Regions from separate parts of the Homo sapiens genome. Here regions 2, 3, 4, 5, 6 and 7 are each linked to region 1. The links are contacts of gene promoters, found by promoter capture Hi-C in blood cells and fetal thymus (Javierre and others, 2016). All regions are on one chromosome and are shown on one strand. Each heading gives the region's core, a stretch centred on a gene start or on the middle of the fragment in contact. The rest is flanking DNA. Distances are from core to core; before and after follow the strand shown.

The links. Contacts are between HindIII fragments. The CHiCAGO score rates a contact against its expected background, and 5 or more counts as called.
Region 2: a contact is called between a fragment that was not itself captured here and the fragment with the promoter of LINC01562 in region 1, in 12 of 17 cell types (fetal thymus, naive CD4 T cells, naive CD8 T cells and 9 more). The highest score is 9.4, in fetal thymus.
Region 3: a contact is called between a fragment that was not itself captured here and the fragment with the promoter of LINC01562 in region 1, in 5 of 17 cell types (naive CD4 T cells, M2 macrophages, megakaryocytes and 2 more). The highest score is 9.7, in naive CD4 T cells.
Region 4: a contact is called between a fragment that was not itself captured here and the fragment with the promoter of LINC01562 in region 1, in 1 of 17 cell types (naive CD4 T cells). The highest score is 6.5, in naive CD4 T cells.
Region 5: a contact is called between a fragment that was not itself captured here and the fragment with the promoter of LINC01562 in region 1, in 1 of 17 cell types (M2 macrophages). The highest score is 5.6, in M2 macrophages.
Region 6: a contact is called between a fragment that was not itself captured here and the fragment with the promoter of LINC01562 in region 1, in 2 of 17 cell types (megakaryocytes and M1 macrophages). The highest score is 6.6, in megakaryocytes.
Region 7: a fragment that was not itself captured here is called in contact with the fragment with the promoter of LINC01562 in region 1 in 2 of 17 cell types (activated CD4 T cells and total CD8 T cells); the score reaches 5.3 in activated CD4 T cells.

What each region holds. Positions count from the first base shown.
Region 1 is chr1:51,232,865-51,237,047 of GRCh38, reverse strand. It overlaps LINC01562 (long intergenic non-protein coding RNA 1562), which reads left to right and starts at 1,952. Exons shown (of 2, transcript NR_147076.1): 1 at 1,952-2,083. RNF11 (ring finger protein 11) reads right to left here and starts at 775. Exons shown (of 3, transcript NM_014372.5): 1 at 169-775. The coding sequence starts at 291. RefSeq lists a silencer at 511-990. The HindIII fragment of the contact is 11,293 bases long and covers 1,103-4,183 here.
Region 2 is chr1:50,766,298-50,770,480 of GRCh38, reverse strand. The region is part of intron 4 of FAF1 (Fas associated factor 1); the gene reads left to right. Among named protein-coding and RNA genes, the nearest start is that of FAF1, 190 kb to the left of the region's middle. The HindIII fragment of the contact is 1,786 bases long and covers 983-2,768 here.
Region 3 is chr1:50,782,834-50,787,016 of GRCh38, reverse strand. The region is part of intron 4 of FAF1 (Fas associated factor 1); the gene reads left to right. Among named protein-coding and RNA genes, the nearest start is that of FAF1, 180 kb to the left of the region's middle. The HindIII fragment of the contact is 746 bases long and covers 1,716-2,461 here.
Region 4 is chr1:50,802,409-50,806,591 of GRCh38, reverse strand. All of the region lies in intron 2 of FAF1 (Fas associated factor 1), which reads left to right. Among named protein-coding and RNA genes, the nearest start is that of FAF1, 160 kb to the left of the region's middle. The HindIII fragment of the contact is 6,777 bases long and covers 1-4,183 here.
Region 5 is chr1:50,835,495-50,839,677 of GRCh38, reverse strand. The region is part of intron 2 of FAF1 (Fas associated factor 1); the gene reads left to right. Among named protein-coding and RNA genes, the nearest start is that of FAF1, 120 kb to the left of the region's middle. The HindIII fragment of the contact is 4,774 bases long and covers 1-4,183 here.
Region 6 is chr1:50,851,934-50,856,116 of GRCh38, reverse strand. The region is part of intron 2 of FAF1 (Fas associated factor 1); the gene reads left to right. Among named protein-coding and RNA genes, the nearest start is that of FAF1, 110 kb to the left of the region's middle. The HindIII fragment of the contact is 592 bases long and covers 2,151-2,742 here.
Region 7 is chr1:50,868,551-50,872,733 of GRCh38, reverse strand. The region is part of intron 1 of FAF1 (Fas associated factor 1); the gene reads left to right. Among named protein-coding and RNA genes, the nearest start is that of FAF1, 90 kb to the left of the region's middle. The HindIII fragment of the contact is 268 bases long and covers 1,549-1,816 here.

The DNA.
Region 1 (4,183 bases), core at 703-3,202:
AACCTTACTCTGAGATCAGAGAGCAAATGCCCTCAGATCCAGCCCTAAGGGGTCAATGCCGCCCAGGCCAGGCCTTGCCGAAGCCAGGGGCAGAGACGGCCCCGAAGCCCCCTCAATCTCCGCCAGAGCTGCCTCTACTCGCTCCCCCCAACACACACCCTCCCCTACCTGATATGGCGGCGGCGGCTCCTGATCCGGCTCCGTCCCCTCGCCAAAGCTAGCCCGGTCGGACTGAGACTCGTGAAGCAGGGAGATGTCATCCGAGGTGGGGGATTTGAGGCAGTTCCCCATCTTCCGGAGCTGGGGTGCGTGATCTGGGGGAGGAGAAAGCAGCGGTGGGGTCGTTCGCACACTCCGCGGTCCGCCTCGGTTGGCGAGGTGGGGTCGGGCGACAGGCCGGGGATCAGGCGGAGGCGACTCCACCGCCCCACGGTGCCGCCGAGGGGCCGCTCATGCCAGCCCCCGGGGTTGGGGGATCAAGGCTGGGCCGCGGGCTCCGCTGGGGTCGCGGCGTTCGCCTCCTGCGAGGCAGCGATGGGGGGGGGGGGGCGGGGAGACGAAGCACTTCCCCACCCCGCCCCCCCGCGGGGCGGCGGCGGCCACGGAGCTGCTGGGCCTAATCCAGGTCAGCGGGGGGGGGCGCGGCCGTCGCGGCTGCCTCAGCTGCTGCCTCAGCTGCTGCTGCCCCCGCCGACGCCGGAGCCACGGCCGCGGGCCTCATCCTACTCCGCCTCAGCGAGACGGCGGCAGCCAGAACGAGGCCGGCTCGGGCACTGCGTCATCGCGCCGTGCGTGCTCTGGTCCCGCCCCCGGCGCCAGGAGGCGAGGGCGGCTCCGGCGGCGCCCATCCCCCTCTCCACTAGCAGCTGTTCTCGGTGCTGCGTCAATTTTTGCTTCTCTCTGACTGCTTGGCTCCGTACCTGGCTCCGAAACCAATCTCCCGTCTCCCGCGCCTCCCCACATTCATTGCTCCTGCCCCGTCTAGGGCTCAGTTCTTACCTGTGCACTGCCTGACAGTCTTCTCACCACCCTCCGCCAAGCGGTCTATTTATATAAACCCATATCGGAATGGATCAGTCCCATGATTAAAATGTTAAAAGCTTCCCCTTTATCCCTTCACAATAAAGTCCTAGCTCGTTACTGAACCATCCCTGCCTGTCCAATCACGTCCTTATCCTTCCACATCACAGCCAGAGAGATTATTCTTCCAGTTGTATATCAGATTGTTCATTTCTTTCCAGTCCCAGCACCAAAGTCCAAGCCACCATCATCTCTCACCTTGGCTTCTGCAATAGACTCTCAGCTGTTCCTGAGTTCATCATTGCCCACATCCAATTCACTGTTGGCACAGTTGACAGAGTTATCTTTTTAAAATTTAAATCGGATCATGTCATTCTCCTGTTAAAACCTTCAGTGTCTCCTCAAGGCTGTCCTTAAGACAATCCTTAAATGGTTTACAAATCTGACTCCCTTTCAATCTCATTAGCAGCATTGTCACCTCCTTCACAAATTCTAAACTAGACTCTCTAAAATGCTTTTCGTTATCTGGAATACTATTGCCTCTGCCTGGGGCCTTTGTCCATATTGTTTCTCTCACAGAAACCCACTTCCCTCCACTCCCAACCTTTCTGCTTCTCATCAGGCTAATCATTATTCTCAGGAATCCTTCTGGATGCAACTTCATTTCCCCTGGGGAGACTCTCCTGACCCTCCAGTCTGGGTTAGTCGCATCCTGTGTGCTCTCAGACCCTGAGCTTTTCTCTGTCACAGCCTGATCAAGCTGAATCATCTGTCCCTCTGTGCAAGGCTGGCACACTGCCCAAGGTAGAGTATGCTCTCTCCTTGGTTGAATGAGCAGCTCAAACAACATATGCAAAAGAAGGAAGCAAGAAGGATGACAGTGCTCCTGATAGACGTTCATTCAACAGGTGGATCTTGACTGCCTTTCGTTTCATTCACCATTTACTGAAGTTGTGTGTGCGTGTGTATACCAGACCCCACGCTAAGGACTGGGGAAAAGGATGATCATACCTGGCTTGTTCCTGATAGAGCCCAGAGACCACCTGGGAAGACAAGTAATCAGGTGAGTCCTAAGCCCACACCCTGCCACGGACCCCAAGGTTTTTAGAGGAACTGAAAGACAGCAATTAGTTCATTTGAGTGAGGAACAGAAAGGATTCTTAGAGGTAGGGCTATATTAAACTCGAATGGGTCTGAACACTCTTACTCTGCAGTCCCTATTCTACGAAGTCACTATCTTATTTAAATGCACTCAAATTCCACATTAAATATCACCTTTTTGATATAAAATTTTTGAAAAGACTCATAATTTTGGGCCAGGCGTGGTGGCTTACGTCTGTAATCCCAGCAATTTGGGAGGTCAAGGCGGGTGGATCACTTGAGGTCAGGGATTCGAGAGTAGCCTGGCCAACATGGTGAAACCCCATCTCTACTAAAAATACAAAAACTAGCCAGGTGTGCTGGTGCACGCCTGTAGTCCCAGCTACTCGGGAGGGTGAGGCAGGAAAACCGCTTGAACCTGGGAGGTGGAAGTTGCAGCGCAGTGAGCCCAGATTGTGCCACTGCACTCTAGCGTGGGCGAGGGAGTGAGTAAGACTCAGTCTCAAAAAAAAAAGGAAGGAGAAAGAGAGAGAGAGAGAAGGGAGGCAGGAAGGAAGGAAAGAAGGAAGGGAGAGAAAGAGAAAGAGAAAAGAGAAAGAAAAGAAAGAAAGAAAGAAAAGAAAGAAAGAAAGAAAGAAAGAAAAAGAAAAAGAAAGGAAAGAAGGAAAGAAAGAACAAACTGACTCACAATTTTGGTTTTGGAATTGTTGAGCTTCCAAGAACTCATTTAATTTATGATTGGCTAAATTTACCAGAAATCAGAGGTACCCTGGAATTTTTACAAAGTGAGAAAATTTACCCCACAAATTATTGTCAAACCTAAAGAAATTTTTATTAATAATAATTTATACAATTATTTGACATAATATTTACACAGTGCTAGAATTTGTAGACATTGTTTGTTTGTTTTGGAGACAGGGTCTCACTCTGTCACCCAGGCTGGCTTGATCGAGGCTCACTGCAGCTTCAACCTCCTGGGCTCAGGTGATCCTCCTGCTTCAGGCCTCTCCAGTAACTAGAACTACAGATGCACACCACCATGCCTTGCATTTGTTTTTGTTTTTGGTAGAGACGAAGTCTTGCCATGTTGCCCAGGCTGGTCTCAAACTCCTGGGCGCAAGCGATCCTCCCGCCTCAGCCTCCCAAAGTGCTGGAATTACAGGTGTGAGCCACTGTATGCCTGGCCAGACATAGATTTATTTAGTTAGTTTTAATTTTTTTTAATTTTTATTTTTTGAGACAGAGTTTTGCTTGTGTTGCCCAGGCTAGAGTGCAATGGTGCGATCTTGGCTTACCGCAACCTCTACTTCCCCGGTTCAAGCAATTCTCCTGCCTCAGCCTCCTGAATAGCTGGGATTACAGGCGCGCACCACCACGCCCAACTAATTTTTTGTATTTTTAGTAAAGACGGGGTTTCACTATGTTGGCCAGGCTGGTCTCGAACTCCTGACCTCAGGTGATCCACCCACCTTGGCCTCTCAAAGTGCTGGGATTATAGGCGTGAGCCAGCTCGCCAGGCCAGATTTATTTTTTTAAGTTTTGTTTTTCATTCTTTTTTTCCACAGGTGGGTAACACTGACACAAGCCCTTGAAAAGTTCTATAGTGCCTTGTGAAAATAAGTTATATTGTTAAGTTTAAAACTAGCTTGGGCTGGGTGCAGTGGCTTACGCCTGTAATCTCAGCACTTTGGGAGGCCGAGGCGGGTGGATCACGAGGTCAGGAGTTCAAAACCAGCCTGGCCAATGTGGCGAAACCCCATCTCTACTAAAAATACAAAAATTAGCCGGGCATGGTGGCATGCACCTGTAATCCCAGCTCCTCAGGAGGCTGAGGCAGGAGAATCACTTGAACCTGAGAGGCGGAGGTTGCAGTGAGCCGAGATCACGCCATTGCACTCCAGCCTGGATAACAGAGTGAGACTCCGTCTCAGTAAACAAACAAACAAACAAGGCTAGTTGTTCACCAGAAGATGGGAGGAGCATTTGAAGCCCATTAATGGCTTGGACATGGTCCCTGCCTTCAAATAGCTCAAACTCAAGTAGATGAGACAAGTAGGTGAAC
Region 2 (4,183 bases), core at 626-3,125, 470 kb after region 1:
TGACTCTCAGCTTGGACATTGTAGGTATGTAGAAATGGTACTGATTTTCGTACATTGATTTTGTATCCTGAAACATTGCTGGAGTTGTTTATCAGAGCTAGTAGCTTTTGGACAGATATTGTGGAGTTTCCTAGGTATACTATCATATCATCTGCAAACAGAGATAGTTTGACTTCCTCTCTTCCTATTTGGATGCCTTTTATTTCTTTCTCTTGCCTGATTGCTCTGGCTAGGACTTCCAGTGCTGTATATGTTGAATAGAGTGGTGAGAGAGGGCATCCTTTTCTTGTTCTGGTTTCAAGGGGAATGCTTCTAACTTTTGCTCAATTCAGTATGATGTTGGCTGTGGGTTTTTCATAGATGGCTCTTAATATTTTGAAGTATGTTTCTTCAGGGCCTAGTTTGTTGAAGGTTTTTTGTTTGTTTTTTTAATACAGAGTCTCACTTTGTTACTCAGGCTGGAGTGCAGTGGCGTGATCTCGGCTCACTGCAACGTCCGCCTCCCGGGTTCAAGTGATTCTCTTGCCTTAGCCTCCCAAGTAGCTGGGACTATAGGCATGGGCCACCACGCGCAGCTAATTTTTGTATTTTTTGTAGAGATGGGGTTTCACCATATTGGCCAGGCTGGTCTCAAACTCCTGACCCCAAGTGATCCACCTGCCTTGGCTTCCCAAAGTGCTGGGATCATAGACGTGAGCCACCACACCCAGCCTGTTGAGGGTTTTTAACGTGAAGCATGTTGAATTTTATTGAAAGCCTTTTCTGTATCTGTTGAAATGATCATGTGGTTTTTGCTTATAGTTCTGTTTATGTGGTAAATCACATTAATTGATTTGTATATATTAAACCAACCTTGCATCCCAGGGATAAAGTCCACTTGATCATGAAGGATTAGCTTTTGGATGTGCAGCCGGATTTGGTTTGCTAGTATTTTGTTAAGGATTTTTGCATCCATGTTCATCATTGATACTGGCCTGAAGCTTTCATTTTTTGTTGTGTCTCTGCCAGGTTTTGGTGTCAGGATGATGCTGGCCTCATAAAATGAGTTAGGGAGGAGTCTCTCTTCCTCAAGCATTTGGAATGGTTTTAGTAGGAACAATACCAGTTCCTCTCTATGCATCTGGTAGAACTCAACTGTGAGCTCATCTGGTCCTGGGCATTGTCTGGTTGGTAGGCTTTTTATTATTCATTCAATTTCACTTTACTATTGGTCTGTTCAGGGATTAAATTTCTTCCTGGTCCAATCTTGGGAGGTTGTATGTTTCCAGAAATTTATTCATTTCTTCTATGTTTTCTAGTTTGTGCATAGAGGTGTTCATAGTAGTCTCTGAGGGTTTTTTGTATTTCTGTGGGTTTGGTGGTAATGTCCCCTTTGTCATTTTTGACTGTGTTTATTTGGAGCTATCTCTCTCTCTTTCTCTCCTGTTTTTTTTTTAAGTCTACTTAGTAGTCTATCAGTCATATTCTTTCAAGGAACTAATTCCTGGACTCAGTCTTTTGTATATTTTTTTATGTCTCAGTTTCCTTCAGTTCAGCTTTGATTTTGGTTATTTCTTGTCTTCTCCTAACTTTGTAATTGGTTTCTTCTTGTTTCTTTAGTTCCTCTAGGTGTGATGTGTGATGTTAGATTGTTAATTTGAGGTCTTTCTAACTTTTTGCTGTGGACATTTAGTGTTATAAACTTTTCTCTTAACACTGCTTAAGCTGTGTCCCAGAGTTTCTGTTACATTGCATCTTTGATCTCATTAGTTTCAAAGAATTGCTTTAATTCTGCCTTTATTTTATTATTTACCCCATAGTCATTCAGGATAGGTTGTTTAATTTCCATTAAATTGTATGCTTTTGAGTGATTTTCTTACTATCAATTTCTATTTTTATTGCACTGGTTCAGTAGTGTGATTGCTATTGTTTTTATTTTTTTTTAATTTGCTAAGGATTGTTTTATGGACAATTATGTGATGGAATTTAGAGTATGTACCATGTACAGATGAGAAGAATATATATTTTGTTGTTTTTGGGTGTAGAGTTCTGTAGATATCTGTCAGGTTCTTTTGGTCTAATATTGAGTTCAGATTTTATCTTTGTTAGTCTTTTGCCTCAGTGATCTAATTCTATCAGTGGGGTGTTGAAGTCTACTATTATTGTGTGGTTATCTTAAGTCTCTTTGTAGATCTCTAAGAACTTGCTATATGAATCCGGGTGCTTTTATGTTTGGTGCATATATTTAGGATAGTTAGGTCTTCTTGTTGAATTGAACCCTTTAGCATTATGTAATGCCCTTCTTTATCTTTTTTTAATCTTTTTGGTTTAAGGTGTGTTTTGTCTGAAGTTAGAATAGCAACCCCTGTTTTGTTCTGTTTTCTGTTGACTTGGTAGATTTTTCTCTGTCCCTTTACTTTTAGCCAGTGGGTGTCATTGCACATGTGATGGTTCTCTTTTTGGCAGCATACAGTTGGGTCTTTCTTCTGTATCTAACTTGCCACTCTGTGCCTTTTAATGGGGGCTTTTAGCCCATTTACATTCAAAGTTTATATTGATAGGTGTGGATTTGATCCAGTCATCGGATTGTTACCTGGTTATTATGCAGACTTGATTGTGTAATTGTTTGTAGGGCTAATGGCCTATGTATTTAAGTGAGTTTTTGTGGTGTCTAGTAATGGTCTTTCCTTTCCATATTTAGCACACCCTTAAGGAGTGTCTATAAGGCAGGTCTCGTGGTGACAAATTCCTAGCATTTGCTCATCTGAAAAGGATTCATTTATGAAGCTTAATCTGGCAGGATATGAAGCTCTTGATTAGAATTTCTTTTCCTTAAGAATGCTGAATATAAACCCCCAATCTCTTCTGGCTTATAGGTTTTCTGCCAAAAGGTACACTGTTAGTCTGTGGGGTTCCCTTTGTAGGTTACCTGTCCCTTTTCTCCAGCTGTCTTTTATTTTGTCTTTTATTTCGACCTTTAAGAATCTGAAGACTATGTGTCTTGGGCATAGTTGTCTTATATAGTATCTCAGAGGCATTCTCTGCATTTCTTATATTTGAATGTTGGCATGTCTAGTGAGGCTGGGGAAATTTTCGCGAATTATATCCTAAAATATGTTTTCCACGTTGCTTGCTTTCTCTCCCTCTTTTTCAGGGACACCAGTGAGATGTAGATGTGGTCTCTTAATGTAATGCCAAATTTTTTAGAGGTTTTGTTTGTTCTTTTTTGAGTCTTTTTAATTTTAGTCTGAGTTATTTTGGGGAACCAGTGTTTGAGCTTTGGGTTTCTTTTCTCCAGTTGGCTAATTCTGATGTTAATACTGGATTGTCTTCTGAAATTCTTAAAGTGAGTTTCTCAGCTCTATCAGATCACTTTGGTTCTTTCTTACAATGGCCATTTCATTTTTCATCTCCCAAATCATTTTATTGTATTCCTTAGAATCCTTTATTGGGTTTCAGCTTTCTCCTGAATCTTGATGATCTTCATTCTTATCCATATTCTGAATTCTGTTTCTGTCATTTTAGTCATTTCAACCTGGTTAAGACCTATTGCTGGGGAACTAGTGTGGTTGTGTGGAGGTGAGAAGACACTGTGGCTTTTTAAATTGGCAGAGTTCTTACACTGGTTCTTTCTCATCTGTATGAGCTGAGCATTCAGTCTTTGAAGTTGCTGTCTTTTGGATGTGTGGTTTTTTTTTTTTTTTTTTTTTGCTTGCTTGCTTGTTTGTTTGTTTTTATCTTCTTTGATGCCCTTGGGGGTTTGATTGTGGTATAAGGTGAGTTTAGTCAACTGACTTTGTTTCCCTTCCTTTGGAGTTGTTGGGGGCCAAGAATGAATACCTGTGCACGGTAGCCCTGTGCTGGATCCCCAGCTTCCTACCCCTTTGGTCCAGCATCTTTGTCCTCCCTTCATCCACTCTGAATGCCTTCCCTCCAAAGATCTGCTTAGAATGCCCCAGGCTTCCTAATGTCCCAGTCTCTTGGTGGCAGCAGATGTTCATCCTGGCTGCAGCTAGTTGGCCATCTTCAGCACTTCCCCAGAGTGGTTTTAAACATCTTCTTGGATGGGTCCTTTCTGGCCATAAGAGTCTGAATTATCTCTACCCATATAGAATCTTAATTTGATTTTGCTCAAAGCAATAACTTTCATAGTTTATAAACAAAAAGTATTCTAGGGGGTAATGGCTTATAATGTTTAAAAGAA
Region 3 (4,183 bases), core at 839-3,338, 450 kb after region 1:
ATTTCCCTGTTTTCCTTTTAGGGGAGATCCTTGTAGAATTTTATTTCATTAATTGAGTCTTGGAAAGCAAAGCTGTTAAACTCTTAACAGTTCATTCCCAAACACTACTCAGATTATGTTATTCCTTTTCTTAAAGCCATTCAAAAGCTTTCCATTGATTTTAGGATATAATTCAAATCTTTAACATGGCCTATAAGTCCCTGTTTGATCAAGCCCCTACCTGCATTTCTAGTTTCATCTATCACCACTCTCCTAGTTCACTATGCCTATGCCATAATGGACTTATTTCAGTTTACCAAATAGGTCTGGGCCTTTATACTTGTTTCTTCTTCTATGTAGATTATTCTTCTAGATAAACCCCTTCACCCTGTACCCATTTGCATGCCCCCAAATATTCTCCTGTAGATTGTTTTTTATTTAAAAAAATTTTGGTAAAAAACACATAATATGAGATTTAGCCTGTCAATATATTTCTAAGTGTACAGCACAAGATTGTTTATGCACTTTTTCATCTTACATAACTGAAACTCTGTACCCATTGGATAGCAACTTTCCATTTTCCCCTCCCTCAAACTCCTGGCAACTGCCATTCTATCTTCTGTTTCTGTAAGTTTGACTATAAATACCTCATAGAAGTGGAATAATGCAGTATTTGCCCGCTGTGATGGCTTATTTCACTTAGCATAATGTCCTCAATGCTTATATATGTTGTAGCATATAGCAGGATTTTCTTCTTCTTAAAAACTGAATAATATTCCATTGTGTGTATATATCACATTTTTTTTAGTCATTAACATCATAAATGGACATTTAGGTTGTTTATACCTTTTGGCTGTTGTGAATAACGCTGCAATGAACATGAGAATGTGATTTTTTTTTTTTTTTGAGACAGGGTCTCACACTGTCACCCAGGCTGGAGTGCAGTGGCGTGATCGCGGCTCACTGTAGCCTCAAACTCTGGGCTCAAGCAGTCCCCCTGCCTTGGCCTCCTGAGTAGCAGGACTATAGGCGTGTGCCACCATGACTGGCTAATTTTTTTTTTTTCTTTGTAGAGAAGGAGTCTCACTTACTTTCTTTCCCAGGCTGGTCTTGAACTCTTGGGCTCAAGTGATCCTCCTGCCTCAGACTCCCAAAGTGTTGGGATTATAGGCATGAGTCACTGTGCCCAGCCATGGGAGTGTGGATATTTCATAGAAATCCTGTTTTCAATTCTGTTGGCAGTATGTTCAAAAGTGGGATTGCTGGATTAGATGGTAGTTTAATTTATAATTTTTTGAGGAACTTCCATACTGTTTCCTATAGCAGCTACACCATTTTACATTCCAACCCCAACTTTGTTAACACTTATTATTTTCTGTTTTTCTTTTCTCTTTTCTTTCCCTTTTCTTTTCTTTCCTTTTTTTTTTGTATAGTAGCCATCCTAAAAGATGTGAAGTGGTAGCTCATTGTGGGTTTGATTTATATTTGTCTGATTAGTGATGTTGAGTATCTTTTCATATACCTGTTGGCCATTTGTATGTCTTTTTTGGAGAAATGTCTATTCAAGTCCTTTGTCCATTTTTTTAAATGGGTTATTTGATATTTTATTGTTGAGTTATAGAAGTTTTTCTGTATTTTGTATTTTAACCCCTTATTAGATATATGGTTCACACATGTTTCCTCTCATTCTGTAGGTTGCCTTTTTACTCTGTTGTTTACTTTTCTGTGCAGAAGCTTTTTAATTTGATAAAGTCCCACTTGTCTATTTTTTCTTTCATTGCCTCTGCTTTTGGAGTCATTTCCAAAAAACCATTGCCAAGATCAGTGTTATAAAGCATTTCCTCTCTTCTGCTTTCTTCTACAAGTTTTATAGTTTCAAGTCTTTTTTTTTTTTTTTTTTTTTTTGAGATAGGGTCTTGCTCTGTCACCCAGGCTGGAGGACAGTAGCAAGGTCTTTGCTCGTATAGTTTCAAGTCTTATGTTTATGTCTTTAATTCACACAATACCATGAGATGATGTTTGTGTATGTTATGAGGTTATGAGGTTCCAAGTTCTTTTGCATGTGGATATCCAGTTTTCCCAGTACCATTTTTTGAAGAAACTATCCTTTCCACATTGTGGGGTCTTGGCACTCTAGTCAAAGATCATTTGACTGTATACGTGTGGGTTTATTTTTGGGATTTCAGTTTTGTTCTATTAGTTGGTGTGTCTGTCTTTATGCCACTAACAAACTGATCTAATTACTCTAGCTTTGTAATATGTTTTGGAGTTAGGAAGTAGGAGGCCTCCAGCTTTGTTCTTCTTTCTCACAATTGTGTTTGGAGTTCCTTGTGGTTACTTATGATATTTAGGATTATTTCCTTATTTCTGCAAAAAATACCATTGGGCTTTTGATAGAGATTGCATTGAATCTGCAGATCACTTTGGATAGTATGGACATTTTAACAATGTTAAATTTTTCAGTCCATGACCATGGGAAGCTTTTCCAGTGTCGTCTTTAATTTCTTTCAGCAATGTTTTGTAGTTTTTAGTGGACAAGTCTTTTGTCTCTGGATAAGTTTATTCATAAGCATTTTATTCTTTTTGAAGCTATTGTAAATGGGACTGTTTTCTTAATTTTCTTTTCAGATTGTTCAGTGTTAGTATATAGAAATGCAGCTGATTTTTATGTGTTGATTTTGCATCTTATAAAAGATTGATGAATTTTGTATTATTTATTAGTTCTAAGTTTTTTTTTTCTTTGGTAGAATCCTTAGTGTTTTCTACATATAATATCATGTTGTCTGTAAACAAAGATAGTTGTATTTCTTCCTTTCCAATTTGGATGTCTTTTGTTTTTCTTGCTTAATTGTTCTATCTAGGCTTTCCAGTACTACGTTGAATAGAAGTGGTGAGAAGGTATCCTAGCTTGTTCCTGATGTTAGAAGAAAACCTTTTAGTTCTTAACCCTTGAATATGATGTTAGCTGTGGGACTTTCATATATGGCATTTATTATGTAGAGGTTATTTCCTTTTATTTCTAGTTTGTTCAGTATTATGAAAATATGTTGACTTCTGTCAAAAGCTTTTTGTTTATTGAGATGATTGTGTGACATTTATCCTTCTTGCTTTTAATGTGGTGTATCACATTGATTGATTTTCATATGTTGTTGTTGTTGTTTTTGAGATGGAGTCTCACTCTGTCACCCAGGCTGGAGTGCAGTGGTGTGATCTTGGTTCACTGCAACCTCCGCCTCCTAGGTTCAAGTGATTCTCATGCCTCGGCCCCCTCAGTAGCTGTGATTACAGGCACACAGCCACCATGCCTGGCTAATTTTTGTATTTTTAGTAGAGATGGGGTTTCGTCATGTTGGCCAGGCTGTTCTCAAACTCCTGATCTCAAGTGATCCGCCCACCTCAGCCTCCCAGAGTGCTGGGATTACAGGCGTGAACCACCGCGCCTGGCCGATTTTTTTATGTTAAATAATCCTTTCATCCCAGGGATAAATCTCACTTTGCCATGGTGTGTAATCCTTTTAATGTGCTGTTGAATTTAGTTTCACTTTCAATGTGCTGTTGAATTTAGTTTCGCTAATATTTTGTTGAGGATCTTTGCATCTGTATTTATCAGGGATATTGGACTGTAGTTTTCTTTTCGTCTGATAGCTTCTTTGGCTTTGGTATTGATGTAATGCTGGCCTCGTGAAAGAAGTTAGGAAGTATTCCCTCCTTCAGTTTTTCGGAAGAGTGTGAGAAGGCTTGGCAGTAATTCTTTAAATGTTCGGTAACATGCCCTAATGTTACCATCTGCATGTTTCTTTGTTGGGAGATTTTTGATTACTGATTCACTCTCTATAACAGACTAGTTGTATGTCTGTTCAGATTTTCTGTTTCTTCACGATTCAGTCTTGGTAGGTTGTATGTTTCTAGGAATTTATCCATTTCTTCTATGTTATCTAATTTGTTGGCATATGATTTTTCATAGTAGTCTGTTATAATTATTTTTAATTTAATTTTTCTGTTTTTTTCTTACTCTAGATAAAGGTTGATGAACTTGGTTGATCTTTAAAAAAAACACTCAGTATTGTTGATTTTTTTCCTATTATTTCTGTATATTAAAATATGGTATAAAAAGTAACACCTTAATGGGATGCTTACTATGAATGGAGTGTGCAGTACTGGAAGTTGCTCTCAATGAGTGAGCAGTGAGTGAATGTGAAGACTT
Region 4 (4,183 bases), core at 570-3,069, 430 kb after region 1:
GCGGGTTAGTGGGCTCTGCGTTCATTTGTGTTTCAGCAGCTGTGGTAGTGTGGCAGGGTGCACATACATAAAATGGAGTGGGGTAGTGGTGGAAGCAGGGCTGTGGTATGTGCTTCCACTGGTGTCGGCTGCCTCCGTCACATGTTTACCTGTATATCAAACTATCACACAGTTTTGAAAGTTGTTTGTACAGTGTATGAGATGTTCTGTTGCTTGATATTATTGCTAATACTTGTATTATCTGATTTAATTTAACCATTGGGTGTGTGGTGGTATCTTATTGTGGTTTTAGCTTGTATTTGTTTGATGACTAATTTGAATATCTTTTTATGTGCTTTTCATCATTCACATACCTTCTTTTGAGAAGTGTCTGTCTCCCCCATTTTCTTATTGACTTTCCCCCATTTTCTTATTGACTTGTCTTGTTAAGTCTCCAGAATTTTTATAAATTTTTAATATAAATCTATCTCAGATACATGTATTATAAATACTTTTTCCTAGTCTGCAGCTTGTCTTTTTATTTTCTTAATGGTATCTTTCAAAGGGCAAACACTATGAATTTTAATGTCCAATTTAGCAATTCTTTATTTTTCATCATTTGCCTACCCATTGTTGTGACAGTTTTCTTCTTTGTTTTCTTGGTGTCCTTCTCTGTAAAATTGAGGTAATGTGAGAGTTAAATGAATTGATATATGTAATGTACTTTGAAAATGCCTCACATTTAATAAAAATGGTACAGTGTTAGCTGCCATTATTGTTACCACAACTCCTTTACTCATAAGTTATTTTTGAGGCTTTTGGATGCTGTCTCTACATCCCTGTCTCATCTTCATTCCTCTTAAAAATTTGTCATTGCCATTTTCTTTAAGGGTCTTTTGTTTACAAAAAAGGACTAAAGTTAAGATTTTCTGTATATTAGAGAAAGGATATCCTAGCATTCCATGTAGGGTATGATTTATATTACATGCCACTGTTTTGTAATCTACCAATTTACCAGTGACTTGGTTTCCTTTCATATGTGATGTTACAATGAGATTTATAGAAATTTTTGCCATTTCCTTCCCCCAAAAGGTCTAAAGCCCACCATGAATGTCATGATTTTCCCCTTTTGTTAAGGCTCCTTTGGTCATCTCTGACATTGGCTTCCACTGTATTTTATGCATACCTTACATGCCTTTTAGTGTGCTATGGAAGATGGCATTTTAGAGGGTATTGTTTTCGTTGTCAGTTTTGCTAAACAGAATTTAGGGGCTGGATTTTGATTGAGGTACATTAATTGGATTAAAAATATGAACATAATTAGCATGAAGGCAGTAATAGTTATACCAAAATGGAGTTTCAAATGAGTATAAACTAGGTCAAGGCAAGATGTTCTTCTTAAAATACATTACAGTATGATAATGATCCACCATAGTTGTTTGAGTCAGTCTCAGAAATGGAGATATTGTCCTGATTCTGTTCTCTATTATTTTGACCAAATATTTAATCAGTCTATCATTTTCCTATTATAGAGTGAGAGATATAATATCTTCCTAGCAAAAATAATATTAAGCAATGAGATAGTTAGTATTTAGCAAGTGATATAGTTCTTATAATAAACTCAGTATAATTTTTAGTCTACAGTCCAGATCTTATTGATCTCTTTTCTAAAAGTATCCCCTCCATCTGAGCCCCTCTCCTGAGCCCTAGATCAGGTACTGGGCTATCCACAAAGTAGTGCGTAGTGCTTGGCAATGAATAGGCAATTGGTAAGAGTGTTGTATTTAACCAAACTTTCAATTTTATCCCTGTTTCTTGTGGCTTTTTTTGTCTCTCTTTCCTGTGGATTCTATAAACTCAAGAAATCAATATTCTTATGGAGGGAAAAAAAGCAAACAAAAACTTACTGCAGCTGTTCTTCTTACAGTTTCTGTCTTTATGCTTTTCACACAAATGTTTTAAGAGAGTCAATTATTCTTAGTTTCCCATGTATCTTTTTAGCTTTTATAATTTAGTTATTGTTAAACTGTTTTAAACTATGTCTAATAACCTTAGGCCTCATAATTTTAGTGTATTTTCAGATTTTCTAGCTTTTGTGTAATAGCTCCTTATAGTTTCTTCTTTGCCTCCTCTGTAACACTTTCCCAGTCTTTTTCCTCCTGTCTGTCCTTTACATTTTTATTTTTATTTGTTTTGTTTTTAATGAATTACTCCAGATTTTATCTTCATCTCCTTTTTCTTCAACAAAGAAGATAGCTGAGTGAGGGAGTGAATTAAAATATTTCTAGGGCTTCGTTTATTTGCCTTTAAGCAGATGTTGCTTTCTTGAACGTAGCTGTGATTTTTCAGTTACTTTTTGGACATCTCCATTTTGGTATTAGCTGAATTTTTCATAGTAAAACTAATTGTTGAATATACTTGGTCCTACGTAGAAGGCAAGCTGTCTTATGTTCATCACTATGTCTTAATTGTCTAGCATAGTGCTTGGTACATAGTTGGCAATTAATACACATTTATTATATGAACAATTGATATTCTCCTGTGACCTGAAAGTTAACATGTTCAAAATTGAACATGTTGGAATCTGGAATTTTCCTTTGCTTCTGTATCTTCCCATTGTTTGAAGCATAGATCAAATGTTCCCTCTTCCCTAAAGTTTTCCTTAATCATCACAGTCAAAAATCTGTTTCCCTATTCTCTATTCCTTTACCAAATTATACTTTTATTGTACCTTTATTCTGGATTACATTTTATTTATTTATGTACAGAGTTTGCTGTACATAAGATTGAGGTCACTTGCTAACTTCTCCAAGATAAATTAACTATTTAATAATCTAAGGTTTTGGGAAAGGAAAGGGTTGAAAAGTGGATTTGTATCACTGTTCCTTCTGTATAGAATCCCCTCCCCATCTTGCTACTTTTCACTCATTCTTCAGCCTCAGGTGAGGCATTATTTTATCCAGGTGTTTCTGAGCCTGCTTTAAGTCTTGAATAGGTGACTTTTCTTTGTATTCCTCTATTATTAATTCCTTTAATAAATAATTATTGAGTGCCTTTATTGTGCAGACACTATGCCAGACAGGCCTTTGAGAAACAAAAAGGTAGGACTTTTGTGGCTGAGTATGTAATGTTTAGCTCATTATACAATTACGTATTACACAGATAAGGAAACTGAGGCTCAGATAAGTTCAGTGAATATACTAAGGTTACAAAATTAATAAATGGGAGAGCCTGGTTTCAGACTTTAGACTTTCTGAGTCCTTAGTATTCTTCCCATTATACTTTGGCATTCCTCAGTGAAAATGTTTTTTGAAAGATTTGAACCAAATCTTTCTAAGCTCTGGTATTTTGTTTCTTTTCCAGCACCACAGAGCATTCTCTTAACCATTTACTGTTACTTAGTAAAGGAGATACATGTACATGGAACCAATGCTGTTGACCAAAAGAGGATAGTTAACTTGATACTGGGCAGAAATACTTCCACTGAATTTGTGTCTTTGAAAACTGATTTTAGCATTTGCTTTACTCAAAGGATTTACAAGCCTCCAGAGTCGTCAGGGTTCTGTGGTATCTATTGTCTATGTTAATCTATGGATTTGTTTTATTTTTCCACTGGAACATTACAGCTCTCAAAATTCATAGCAAACACCCTACACTCTATTTATTTCCATTCAACAGTACGATGGTGTGAATTTGACAAAACTGTGGCAAATACTTAAGTTAGTATTTCACAAAATACCCAAACTCCTTTTGGCAGTTGATTTCCAGGCAGCTGATAAAACATTGAATTGGTAGGTGTTTTTTGTTTTTGTGGGTTATTCATTTTGATGTGGATACGGAAGGGTAGGGAAGGAGAAGTTGTTATGGTATAAAGACAGAGTTGGAAAAGTTGGGCTTATGTTGTTGTTTGTTTGTTTTTGTTTTGTTTTCCTGAGAATATTCTCTGTTACCCTGCAGTAAGCTGTCTACATTCCAGGATTCGACAGCCTGCTTGCTTAATAGCCTTCAAAAACATACATGTCCTGTCATACCTGTGCTATGTTCTGACTACTTGGTAACTTGTTAGCTCAGAGATTAATTTTAGGGATGTTTTATATAAGGAAACCTCTCCTCTAATGCTACCTCCTTTTGTTACCTGTTAATAGTCATGGTGTTAGGTTTATTGAATGACTTTTGCCTCTATATTATTTTCTTCTCAATGTTC
Region 5 (4,183 bases), core at 811-3,310, 400 kb after region 1:
AGATTAAACAGGTTCGTTAGCCATCTTGATACAAGTATTATAAGGACCTGACAGGTCATAAGTCTCCTTGTGTAGAACACCTCACTCTTGCTTCCTGTGAAAGCATAAAATGTTAGAATTAGCAAAATCTGATCAACAGTATTTAGGCCCTTTCTTTATTGCTTTTACTTACTGACATCTTTTTCTCTTGTCAGGCTATTATTAGTGATCATGGCCTTATGAAATTCTGGTTGAATAAAGCACCTGGAGAAATAGTAATTTATAAATATGAAATGCGACTAAAGTCTATTAATACCAGACTTCTTTGCATATCAAACAAATATTGTGAATTTTTAGCGGGAGTATGTGAACTTGGAGTGTGTGACCATTTGCTTGGTGTTGGGGTCATTGTAAACTAATGCAACCAAATGCATCTCATAAGTAGGCAGTAGCTTGATTTTTTTCTTGTTTGTAAAAATAATAGTAGAAATGAAATGAACTCCTTTTTTTTTCTGCTTTTCTTGCACAGTTGCCAACAAAATATGCAGTCATTAAGCAAGCAGCAGGGTAATAAATATAATAAACATATATTTATTTTTATGAAGAAAACTTCTCTGCTTCTTGCAGTAGAATTCTTTGTGCTCTGATCACATCAAAAAAAGCAGTACCTGAGGTCATAGGTGTGCCTGGTAGCACAGTTAAGTTGGATATTTTCCCCCTTGTGTTTTTGTCACAAACATTGATCTTAGGGGTTTATAATTTGGTAGTGAATACTGGAAACATATATTCAGCTTCCAGTGTTAGTGTATAAAGAACACCATCTGATGGATTGGCCAGAGTTGAATTTGAATCTGATTTGGATACTTTTATTGTTACAATTTTGAAAGAGTTATTACTAAATCTGATAGTAATAGTGATGTGTTCTTTATAGTTATCACATTTAAGGAGTTTTCAAAATAAAATCCTCTGCATGTTATTTCTCTGAGAGAAAATTACATTATTTAGAATGTTTATATTTGCAAAACCCAGTAACATCTGTGGGAGCAGCTGGTTGTCACAGATATTTTCTATAGAAATTGCAGAATAATGTGTATTTATAATTTATAATTTAATTTTTATAATTATATAAAATATATATATTTTTAATTTATAATTCTACATGTAAAATTATGTTAATGTAAAATTATATATATAACAAAACATAGCTTATATTTATATATAATTATATATTTGTAATTTACAATTTTACATTAACATGTAAAATTATATTTACATTAACATGTAAAATTAAAAGTAATGTAAAATTTTATATTAACATGTAAAATTATAAGTTAATGTAATATATGTTAATACTATAGTTTACATGAGTTTCATAGGATAAAATTTTTTGTTAAACAATTCAGAGCTTTGAAAATATCAGTTGATGAATATCCTCAAGTATAGATTCTTCATTTTATTTTATTTTTTAAAGAAACATCCACCATCTGATGGTATCTGCAGGCTTTACCCCAGATGGTTCAGCCCATAAAACCATCCTGTTGTGATATACCAAAATATGTTTAAAAAGCTGTGCATGCCTTTATGATTTGATTTTTTTTTAAGGGATGATAGAGGTGCTTTATGTTTTTAAGGGACACATTGTATAAAGGAGCATCCAGCCAGGCGCGGTGGCTCACGCCTGTAATCCCAGCACTTTGGGAGGCCGAGGCGGGCCGATCACAAGGTCAGGAGATGGAGACCATCCTGGCTAACACGGTGAAACCCCGTCTCTGCTAAAAATACAAAAAATTAGCTGGGCATGGTGTCACACGCCTGTAGTCCCAGCTGCTCAGGAGGCTGAGGCAGGAGAATCACTTGAACTCAGGAGGCAGAGGTTGCAGTGAGCTGAGGTCACGCCACTGCACTCCAGCCTGGGTGACAGAGTGAGACTCTGTCTCAAAAAAAAAAAAAAGGAGCTTCCCCTTTCCCAACCCTATCTTTTACTATTTTCATAAAGTTGAGGTCTGAATTTACTTTCCAGATTGGGTATGTATTTGGTACAAACTTTATAGGTCAATGTTAGATCTAGTAATTATCCTTCAATTGTTGTCTTTGAGTTTATACAATAGAAGTTACTTGACTAGCGTTTTACTCTTTTTGTAGAAAACATATAATCCATATTCAAATCAACATTTAAAAATATTTGTAAAGAAAGAAATCCCTTATGTAGTATTCTTGCCAAAAATATTTAACTGAATCTAATCATGAGGAAGCAACCAGGCACGTCGAAATTGGAGGTTATTCTATAAAATAGTTTAAAATTGTTAGTGGCATGTAAAGCAAACAAAAAGGTGGGGAAGTTGTTCCAGATTCAAGAAGACCAAGAGAAAAGACAACTAAATACAACAATGCGTGATCCCCAAGTAGATCTAGATCCAAAACAAGAACAAGAAACATAACATATGGCCGGGCACGGTGGCTCACGCCTGTAATCCCAGCACTTTGGGAGGCCAAGATGGGCAGATCACGAGGTCAGGAGATCAAGACCATCCTGGCTAACACAGTGAAACCCATCTTTACTAAAAATACAAAAAATTAGCTGGGCATGGTGGCGGGTGCCTGTAGTCCCAGCTACTCGGGAGGCTGAGGCAGGAGAATGGCGTGAACCTGGGATGCAGAGCTTGCAGTGAGCCGAGATCACACCACTGCACTCCAGCCTGGGCGACAGAGCAAGACTCCATCTCAAAAAAAAAAAAAAAAAAAAAAAAGAAACATAACATACACTTGTAAGAGACAATTGGAAGAGTTGGAAGAATTCAAATATGTACTATTTTGTAGTTGCAATATAGAGTCAATATTAATTTTTTTGACTTTGATAATGATATTGTGGTTATAAAGAGAATATCCTTATTCTTAAGATTAAATGCTGGGACAGAGTGTCATAATGCTTGCAATTTACTTTCTTTTAAAATTGTTTTATTTTTAATTGACACATAATAATTGTGTATGTTTATAAGGTTGCAATTTACCTTCAAATGTGAAAGAAATGGTATATGTATTTGGCCAGAAAGGATGAAAGTAAACTTGTCAGAGTATTAACAATTATTGAATCCATGTGAAAGGTACATTGATGTTCATTGTACTTTTCTTTCAAGTTTTCTCTAGATGGAAATTTTTTTAAAAAGCTGGGGACAAAATCTCCACAAAGAATAAACTGTAATATTAGGACAGTGCAACTTACTATTTTGGTCCAATTTTTGTCCCTAACATTACCATTTGTAAGAGATTATTGAATATATGTTCAATACTTATTTATTATTTTGTTTCCTACAGTTTAATAATGCTACTCCATGATTTTAGAATGTTTTACAGTTTACAAAACATGGCTGGGCATGGTGACTCATGCTATTATACCCAGCACTTTGGGAGGCTGAGGTGGGAGGATTGCCTGAGCCCAGGAGTTCAAAGTTAAAGTGAGCTATGATCACATCACTGCACTCCAGCCTGGACAACAGAATGAGACCCTGTCTAAAAAAAAAAAAAAAAAAACAGAAACAAAAAACAAAAACACACACACACAAAATCCCCAAAAAACTACATACAGAGAGAGTATTTATGTACATCCTATTTCTGTTTTGTGAAATAGATGAGATAGGTGGTATTTTCCTCACTTTACAAATGAACAGTGTGTTTTAGAGAAATATTCCCAAGATCATAGCCAGCTACTTTTGTGCCCAGACTTCCCTCCTAAGCCTTGCAGTCTTCCCTGTATCAACCTTGATGTCCCACAGATTATTTTAAATGCAGTGTACCACAAAATTGTTCCTTTTTTCCTCTTTAGATTATTCCTTGGTAATGGTGCCTTGATCTACCCAAATAGACCAGTCGCATATCTGGAAGCCATCCTACAATTACTATACTCTTACCTAATTGGCTCTAGGGGGAGAAGAAATGGGGAAGAGAAGTAATGTTTTTCAAGTACATATTTAATATCTGGTTCTATGTGTTCGATGATTTTCATGAATCTTATTAAATTCTTTCAGCAGCTACCGTGTTTAGATGGTGTCTCCAATTTTACAGTTTCATAATAGAGATTTGGAAATAGGCTTAACAAGGTTAAGTGATTTTTTTTTTTTTTTTTTTTTTTTTGAGATGGAGTCTTGCTTTGTCATCCAGGCTGGAGTGCAGTGGCGCAATGTCGGCTCACTGCAACCCCCGCCTCCTG
Region 6 (4,183 bases), core at 1,197-3,696, 380 kb after region 1:
TTATCTGCTTCCTATTGGTTCGTGTCCACTAATTTTGAAGGTTAAAACACTTACTGGTAGTGAATATTTTTATCAGTACAGCCTATGCAGAATATTGTAAAAGGAGAATTTTCCCAGATAATGTTGAATAATTGAATGGTAAGGTACTCTTCCACTATTTCTGAGTTATTTTATTTTGGAGAATATTCTAACAACACTTGGGGTTAAAACACTGGTGTTATATTTGTGCAGAAATGCAATCATACACTGTATCAGGCCCAAGCAAAAACATCAGGCTATCTTTCAGAACCTTAAATTTTGGCTTTCTTTTGAGATATGTCTATCTCCTAGCTGGCTTTTCTTCACAAATAATTCACTTTTATTCACAGTAAAGATTTATTGTGCTTTGTAACTATCTTGCTGTTTACATTTTATCATTTATCCTGTTTTCATGCAGCATTCACTTTGTTGTTTTTAAAAATGAAACAAATATTTTGAATAATCCATCACTAGTTTAAACTTTTCAGTAGCATCATGGAACTTTATGTGATGTCCTCTATATTTTGCCTGTGTGTTATAGTTTGTGTTTATAAATTATGACTATCACTGATCTGCATTTTCTAGGGTTTACAGAACAGTTTGCATTAATTGAGTTGTAACCTCGGATATGTCTGTATTTTATATTTCCTGCACATATCACTTGGACCTCTTCTCCAGTGTTTTTGTGCACATTTTTGCTAGGGAAATGTAAAGGAATCTGAGTTAGGCACTACAATCTGGAATTGTGATGAACTTAAAAAAAATCTAATAAAAAAACACATTCAGTGAGCACTGAGTGCTTACAGTGCATCCAGATTTTTGCTAGATAAAGAGTGGGGGCTTAAAAAATATAACAAGATGTAGTCTCTAACTTTGAGAATTGTGCTAAAAAATCAATAAGACACATGATCTCTGATCTGTGTGTATTACACAGGTCAAGTATTCCTTATCCGAAATGCTTGGGACCAAAAGAATGTCCAGATTTTGGATTTTTTCAGATTTTGGTATATTTACATTATACTGTTGAATATTAGTATCGCTAATCCAAAAATCTAAAATCCAAAATGTTCAATCGAGGATTTCCTTTCAAACATCATCCAAAATGTTCCATCGAGCATTTCCTTTCAAACATCATCCAAAATGTTCCATCGAGCATTTCCTTTCAAACATCATCCAAAATGTTCCATCGAGCATTTCCTTTTGAACATCATGTTGGCACTCAAAAGATTTAGGATTTTGGAGCACTTTGGATTTTGGATTTTTGGATTAGGGATGCTCAAAGTAACTTCCTAAAAAAACGGTGATTGCAAATATTTTAGCTATTTTGTAGATCTAAACACACTGATAACAGCTATTCTATAGGAAAATAGAGCCCAGTCCTAGGAGTTCTGATTATTAGTCACTTTCCCAGACCTGGCACATTATTTTTGTTATGTGGGCTGCTGTCTGCAAAAGAGGTATTCCAAACTCTATGTTTTAAGTACTCTACACTTGGCTCCACTTATTTTGGGGTAACTGCAGGTTAGATTATATATGTCAAAATTCTGAAAACAAAGTTACATGTACTAATACTTTTAGGAAATGTCTCAGCCTACTGTTTTACTTGACAGGAACCCTGTAGGTCTGTCCCAAGGTTATCTCCCTCTGACTGTTACCATTTTTCACATTGTCCTGCGCTTAGAGTTAAGAGAAGATGAATGTCATTACAGCTGAGATTCCTCCCTTGAGATGAGTATTTTCCATTTATACCCAGAAAGGTAAGTACATAAGGAAGAACTAGTGACAGTGAGTTAGAATCTTTTACCAAAGGGCTGTCTTTTTCCGTGGAAGTGTGCTACATGAACATTATAAATTCTAATCTGGGCCCCAGAATTGACCCACGTCTCACTTTCTGTTTTCACTATAGAAGAATTTGGGTCAGGGGAGAATAAAAATCTATATGGCTTGTGTAATTTTGACTAATCAAAATGTTAGCTATAGTGGTAAACACACTGCATTAATTGAATGAAGAGCCCTGGCTTTTCAGACCTCTTAGTAATTTATTGAGTATGGCCTTGGCTAAGTTACTTCTCTCTAACTTCTGAATTCCTCATATAAAATGAAGGGTTTGTACCCTAGATTATACTCAAGCTTCCATGATATATGAAGTATTTCTGAAGGATCTATTTTGTCCTAATTTTTTGTTAAAATTCAATGAATAGCAGTCAATTATAAATAGTAGTACAGATTTTTAATAGATCTTCATAAGTTTGAAACATTTGTATACATACTATTAAAAATTATTTTGACAACTTTATAGTGTAGATGATGGCAGGAGAAGATGCTCTGCCACTTATTTTACACACGGTCTCTAGATATGAAACTCCTTCAATAAATTAAAATTTCCAATAATCTGTAGCAGATCCAGGGAAAGATATCTGACATATACTTGATAACCCAATGTTAAGTGAAATAAAGTGAAAGTAAACATTAACCTAGCCATACTACGTTTTAAGTACTTGATACTCTTAGGAAATGATTTTTGAACTTTGCACTCAATTTCTGCTGTAGTTTGCTGCCTGTGCTGACATTGCTGTTTTGCTGAAGAAAGACTCTATTCAGAGTGCTTATATTTGTCTTTAACTACATGTTTCAACCTACAAGAGTGAAACAAATCCGCATATGTGTTTCTATATTGTCATGGAATTTTTAGTCCTCGAAGATAATTTTGTACTAATAGAAGCTTATAGTACAGTCATATACACTGAAGAGTCAAAACTAAGGAAAATTGTACTGCACATAATCTGCCTCATTTTAAGATCCATTGAGGTACTTTGAGAAATTTCCTCCAATTTTCACTTTTGAAGGAACATATCTTAATGTTTGCCCTAAAATTTCATGTAGCAGTTCCACTACTCTGCTCAGGATGTGGCTGTAGAGGTCCTCAAATGTGCACTGCTTTTCTACTTTATACAGTGTTATGAACACCTGCAGTTTTATGAATGAATAGACTAACCATTGATAATAATGAGTCTCTGTCCTCATCCGAAAGCAGCCAAGCATTGAGCACTGCCCTTCATCAGTGGCTATCAGACACTGGTTTATATTTGCACAGATGCTTGCTACAACAAAAGATAAGTTACTGTGAAAGAATAGCTCATCATATCAATTTCTGCTTCTTTGCTACAGCCCATTATTTACAAAATTTTTCAATTTCTCTGTTTTTTAACCTGACAACCATTCCATCTTCTATTGTCTCTTCTTTAATTGAGGGTTTATTTTGTGTTAGGCATCATATCCAGTGATACACTTACATTATTTCACTTAATCCTCACAGCAGTCCCCAAAAGTAAATAGGTAAATGTTAGTTTTATTATATAGATGAGAAACTGAGGGCTAATGAAGTTAAGTAAACTGTCCAAGCTCACATAGCTGTTAAGGGGTAAAGTTTTGAACCCAGGCCTGTCAGTTCATGAGGAATTGTCATAGCGGTAAACCACATTTTAAGATTACTTATCACATTTTCCCTACCTAGTATGCTTTTCTTCTCTGTACTGGCTTTTTTCTTCCTACCACTTATAAATAATATCATATTGAGCTTTGGCTGTAATCACATAGTAGTGCTTTACTCTAAATACATTTCTGCTTTGTTTTCAAATAGATTCTCAGTTCTAGAGGAAGGGAATTGTGTTTCTTATTAATTTTGTCTGTGACATATAGTAATTGCCTAATGAATACTTGACTGATTGAGTTATTAGCAAGCTTACTTTTAGGTCTGTTCTTTCTCTATTGTTTGGATATTTGAACGTCTTTGCTGTTAAGACTTCTGACTCTTACTGATATTACTTTTTCTTGTCTGGCAAACATAAGGTTTGAGGAAAGAGCGGGACAACCCAGACACCCAAGGAATAAGAAAGGGTTAGTTTTGATATCTAACTAGTAAAATTACATGATTTCTACCTATTGTGGCTTTTTTTGAGAAATACTTTTCATGAATCTTTTCTTTGCATTTTTTTTCTAAGCATGTCATACAAATCTTTTTTTCTTTCCTGTTTATATTTGGTTGTGCCATTCTATATAAGGAAAGCTCATTATATAGCCTAACCTATTTGAAAGTTTTTATCGGTTCTGATTCTCAGGAGAAAACTTGGGGTGATAAAACACTGCTAAACTATAATTAAATAGT
Region 7 (4,183 bases), core at 433-2,932, 360 kb after region 1:
GTAGAGATAGGGTTTCACCATGTTGGGCAGCCTGGTCTCGAACTCCTGACCTCAGGTGTTCTGCCTGCCTCGGCCTCCCAAAGTGCTGGGATTATAGGCATGAGCCACCGCGCCCAGCCTGTTTGATAGCATTTTACACAAACTAGAGCTTCTTTCAAAATTGGAGTCAATCCTCTCAAACCCTACTGCTGCTTTATCAGTTAAGGTTATGTCATAGTCTAAATCCTTTGTTTACATTTCAACAGTGTTCACAGCATCTACATCAGGAGTAGATTTTCATCTCAAGAAACCACTTTTTTTGCTCATCCATAAGAAGCAACTTCGTATCTATTCAGGTTTTATCATAAGATTGCAGCAATTCATGCATATCTTCACACTCCACTTCTAATTCTAGTTATCTTGCTGTCTTCACCATATCTGCAGTTCCTCTGCTGAAGTCTTGAATCCCTCAAAATTATCCATAAGGGTGAGAATCAACTTCTCCCAAACTCTTGTTGATGTTGATATTTTGACCTCTTCCCATGAATTATGAATGGCATCTAGAATGGTGAATCCTTTCCAGAAAGTTTTCAGTGTACTTTGCCCAGATCCATAAGAGGAATCACTATCTACAGCAGCTATTATAGCTTTATGAAATGTATTTTCTTTTTCTTTTTTTTTTTTTTTTTTGAGATGGAGTCTGGCTCTGTTGCCCAGGCTGGAGTGCAGTGGCGCAATCTCGGCTCACTGCAACCTCCGCCTCCCGGGTTCATGCCATTCTCCTGCCTCAGCCTCCCGAGTAGCTGGGACTACAGGCGCCCGCCACTATGCCCGGCTAATTTTTTGTATTTTTGGTAGAGACGGGGTTTCACCGTGTTAGCCAGGATGGTCTCGATCTCCTGACCTCGTGATCCGCCCGCCTCGTTTTTCTAAATAACAAGACTTGAAATTCAAAAATAATCCTTGACCCATGAGCTACAGAATCGATGTTGTGTTAGCAGCCAGAAAAACAACTTTGATCTCTTTGTACATCTCTATCTGAGCTCTTGAGTAACCAAGTGCATTGTCAATGAATAGTAATAGTTTGAAAGGAATCTGTTTTTCTAAGCAGTAGGTCCCAGAAGCTGGGTTAAAATATTGAGTAACCCATATGGTAAAGAGATGTGCTGTCATTCAGGCTTTGTTGTTCCATTTAGAGAGCACAGGCAGAATAGATTTAGCATAATTCTGAAGAGACCTAGGATTTTCAGAATGGTCAATAAGCATTGGCTTCAGTTGAAAGTCACCATCTGCATTAGCCCCTAATGAGAAAGTCAGCCTGCCCTTTGAAGCTTTGAAGCCAGGCATTGACTTCTCTTTTGCTGTGATGATGTTTTCTTCCAATAGAAGGCTGTTTTATCCACATAGAATGTTACTACTGCTGTTTAGTGTAAGCATCTTCATCAATTAGCTAGGTCCTGAATAAAACTTACTACAGCTTCTACATCAGCACTTGCTGCTTCACCTTGCATTTTCATGTTATGGAGATGACTTCCTTCCTTGAACTTCTTGAGCCAACCTCTGCAAGCTTCAAACTTTTCTTCTGCGTGTCCTCACCTGTGTCGTAGAATGTAAGCAAGTTTGGTCCTTGCTCTGCATTAGGTTTTGGCTTAAGCAAAAGTTTCGACTGGTTTAATCTTCTATTCAGACCACTAAAACTTTCTCTATATTAGTAGTAAGGCTGTTCTGCTTTCTTATTATTTGTATATTCACTAGAGTAACACGTAATTTCCCTCAAGAACTTTTCCTTTGCATTCACAATGTGGCTATTTGGTGCAAAAAAACCTTGCTTTAAGCTTATCTCAACTTTCAACATTTCTTTCTCATTAAGCTTAATCATTTTAAGCTTTTGATTTAAAATGAGAAACATGACTTGAACACTTAGAGGCTATTGTTGGATTATTAATTGGCCTCGTTTCAATATTGTGTCTGAGAGAATAGGGACTCCCAAGGAGGAGAGAGATGGGGAACTGGCAGGTCAGCAGAGCAGTGAGGACACATACAACATTTATTGATGAAGTTCATTGTCTTGTGGGCATGGTTTGTGGCGCCTCAAAACAATTACAATAGTAACATCAAAGATCATAGATTACCATAATATATATAATAATAGTGAAAAAGTTTGAAACATTGCAAGAATTACCAAAATGTGACACAGAAACATGCAATTAGCGTGTACTATTGGAAAAATGGTTCTGATGGACTTGCTCGATGCAGGGATGCCATAAACCTCTAATTTTTTCTTTCTTTTTTATTTTTGAGATGGAGTCTTGCCCTGTCACCCAGGCGGGAGTGCAGTGGCGCAATCTCGGCTCTCTGCAACTTGTGCCTCGCGCGTTCAAGTGATTTTCTTGCCTCAGCCTTCCGAGTAGCTGGGACTACAGGCACATGCTGCCATGCTCAGCTAATTTTTTGTATTTTAGTAGAGACGGGGTTTCACTGTGTTGCCCAGGCTGGTCTTGAACTCCTGAGCTCAGTCAGTCAGTCCGCCTTGGCCTCCCAAAGTGCTAGGATTATAGGCGTGAGCCAATGTGCCCGGCCCCTTCAATTTTTTAAAAATGCAATATCTTCACGGTGCTGTAGAGTGTAATAAAATGTGTTTGCTTATACAAAATTCTGTCAAATGATTAAGATTGAATTCATGCAAATTAAAACTGGTCTAGAACTAATGAAGTCCATAAAGTTCAGCAAATGCATGTACAGGAAACACTTTATAAGGATACCATCATAATGCATGGTATGAAAATAAATCTTTCTGAAGATGAACTCAGTTGTTAGACGTTATATACCACAGGAGAAGCCACAATCACATTCAGCAGATGCCAAAATCATAGAACTAACAACTTGAGAACTGGTAACAAAGAGACTTTAAGGTAGATATGTTTAAAATATGTAAAACTGTAGAGAATAGAACTTATAAGCCAGAAATAGTGAAAAAATAGAATAGATTGGATTTTATAAAGAATCTAAAAGTACATCCTCAAAGAAAAAACTCTATACTAGGTAGGTAAATTGGAAAACTATAGGTTTAAAAAAATGGTATAGAAGATAAAGTAAATCATCACTGTACAAATTTGTATAGAAAATTTAAAAGATGACATGGAGGCTAGAATGAGATGCACCTCCATGGCAAGTAGGAGCTCTGAAAGAGCAGAATTGATTATGTAGGAGAGATAATATTCAAATGAATAAAAGTTGAGAATGTCTTAGATTTACTAAAACATGCAACAACAAACACCATGTCATATACTTAACTCATAATAACAAAATAAAAAATAAGCACTAAAAGCCACCAGAGAATGGGATGATTAGAAAATAAGTAGAAGTGTGGCAGACTCAAGCCCAACCATAATAATTACATGAAATATAAGTACTTTAAATACTTTGATATAGAGGCAGATGTTGTTGTAGTGGATAAAAAGCAAGACCTGACTATAGTCTGTCTAAAAGAAATGTACTATAAAAGTAAAGCCACAGTTAAAAAATATGGAAAATTATATACTATGAAACTATTATTGAAAAGCTAGATGACAATATTAATACCAGACTAAGTAGACTTGAGTACAAGGCATATTACCAAAGATAAAAGAAACATAATCGCGGGAGAATCAATTTTTCAAGAAGGTAACACTTCAAATTTGTGTACACTCATTGTCAAGCAAAAATTGGCAAAACTGAAGGCAGATATAGACAAATCCACAAGTACAAATGGAGATTTTCAGAGTTCTCTCTCAGTAATTAATAGAACAAGTAGAATCAGTAAAGATACAGATAATTTGAACAGTACTATCAATAACTAGACTTAATTGACATTTATAGAGTTAAATGGCAATTCCACACAATAACAGATAGAATACACATTTATATGCATATGAAACATTTAGCAATACAGATTATTGGGCTATTAAGTCTTCATAAATTTCCAAGGATGGAAATCATATAGATAAAGTTCTCCATCCACAATGGAATTAAATTACAAATCAACAGCAAAAAGATGTTTGGAAAACTGCATGTGTTTAGGAATTAAGTAACATTCTTCCAAATACAACACATGGGCCAAAAAACAGATCATGAGGAAAACTTTAGAAAAAACTTTGAACTGAATGATAATGAACATACATATAAAAATTTGTGAGATGTAGCTACAGCAGTGCCTAGAGGTAAA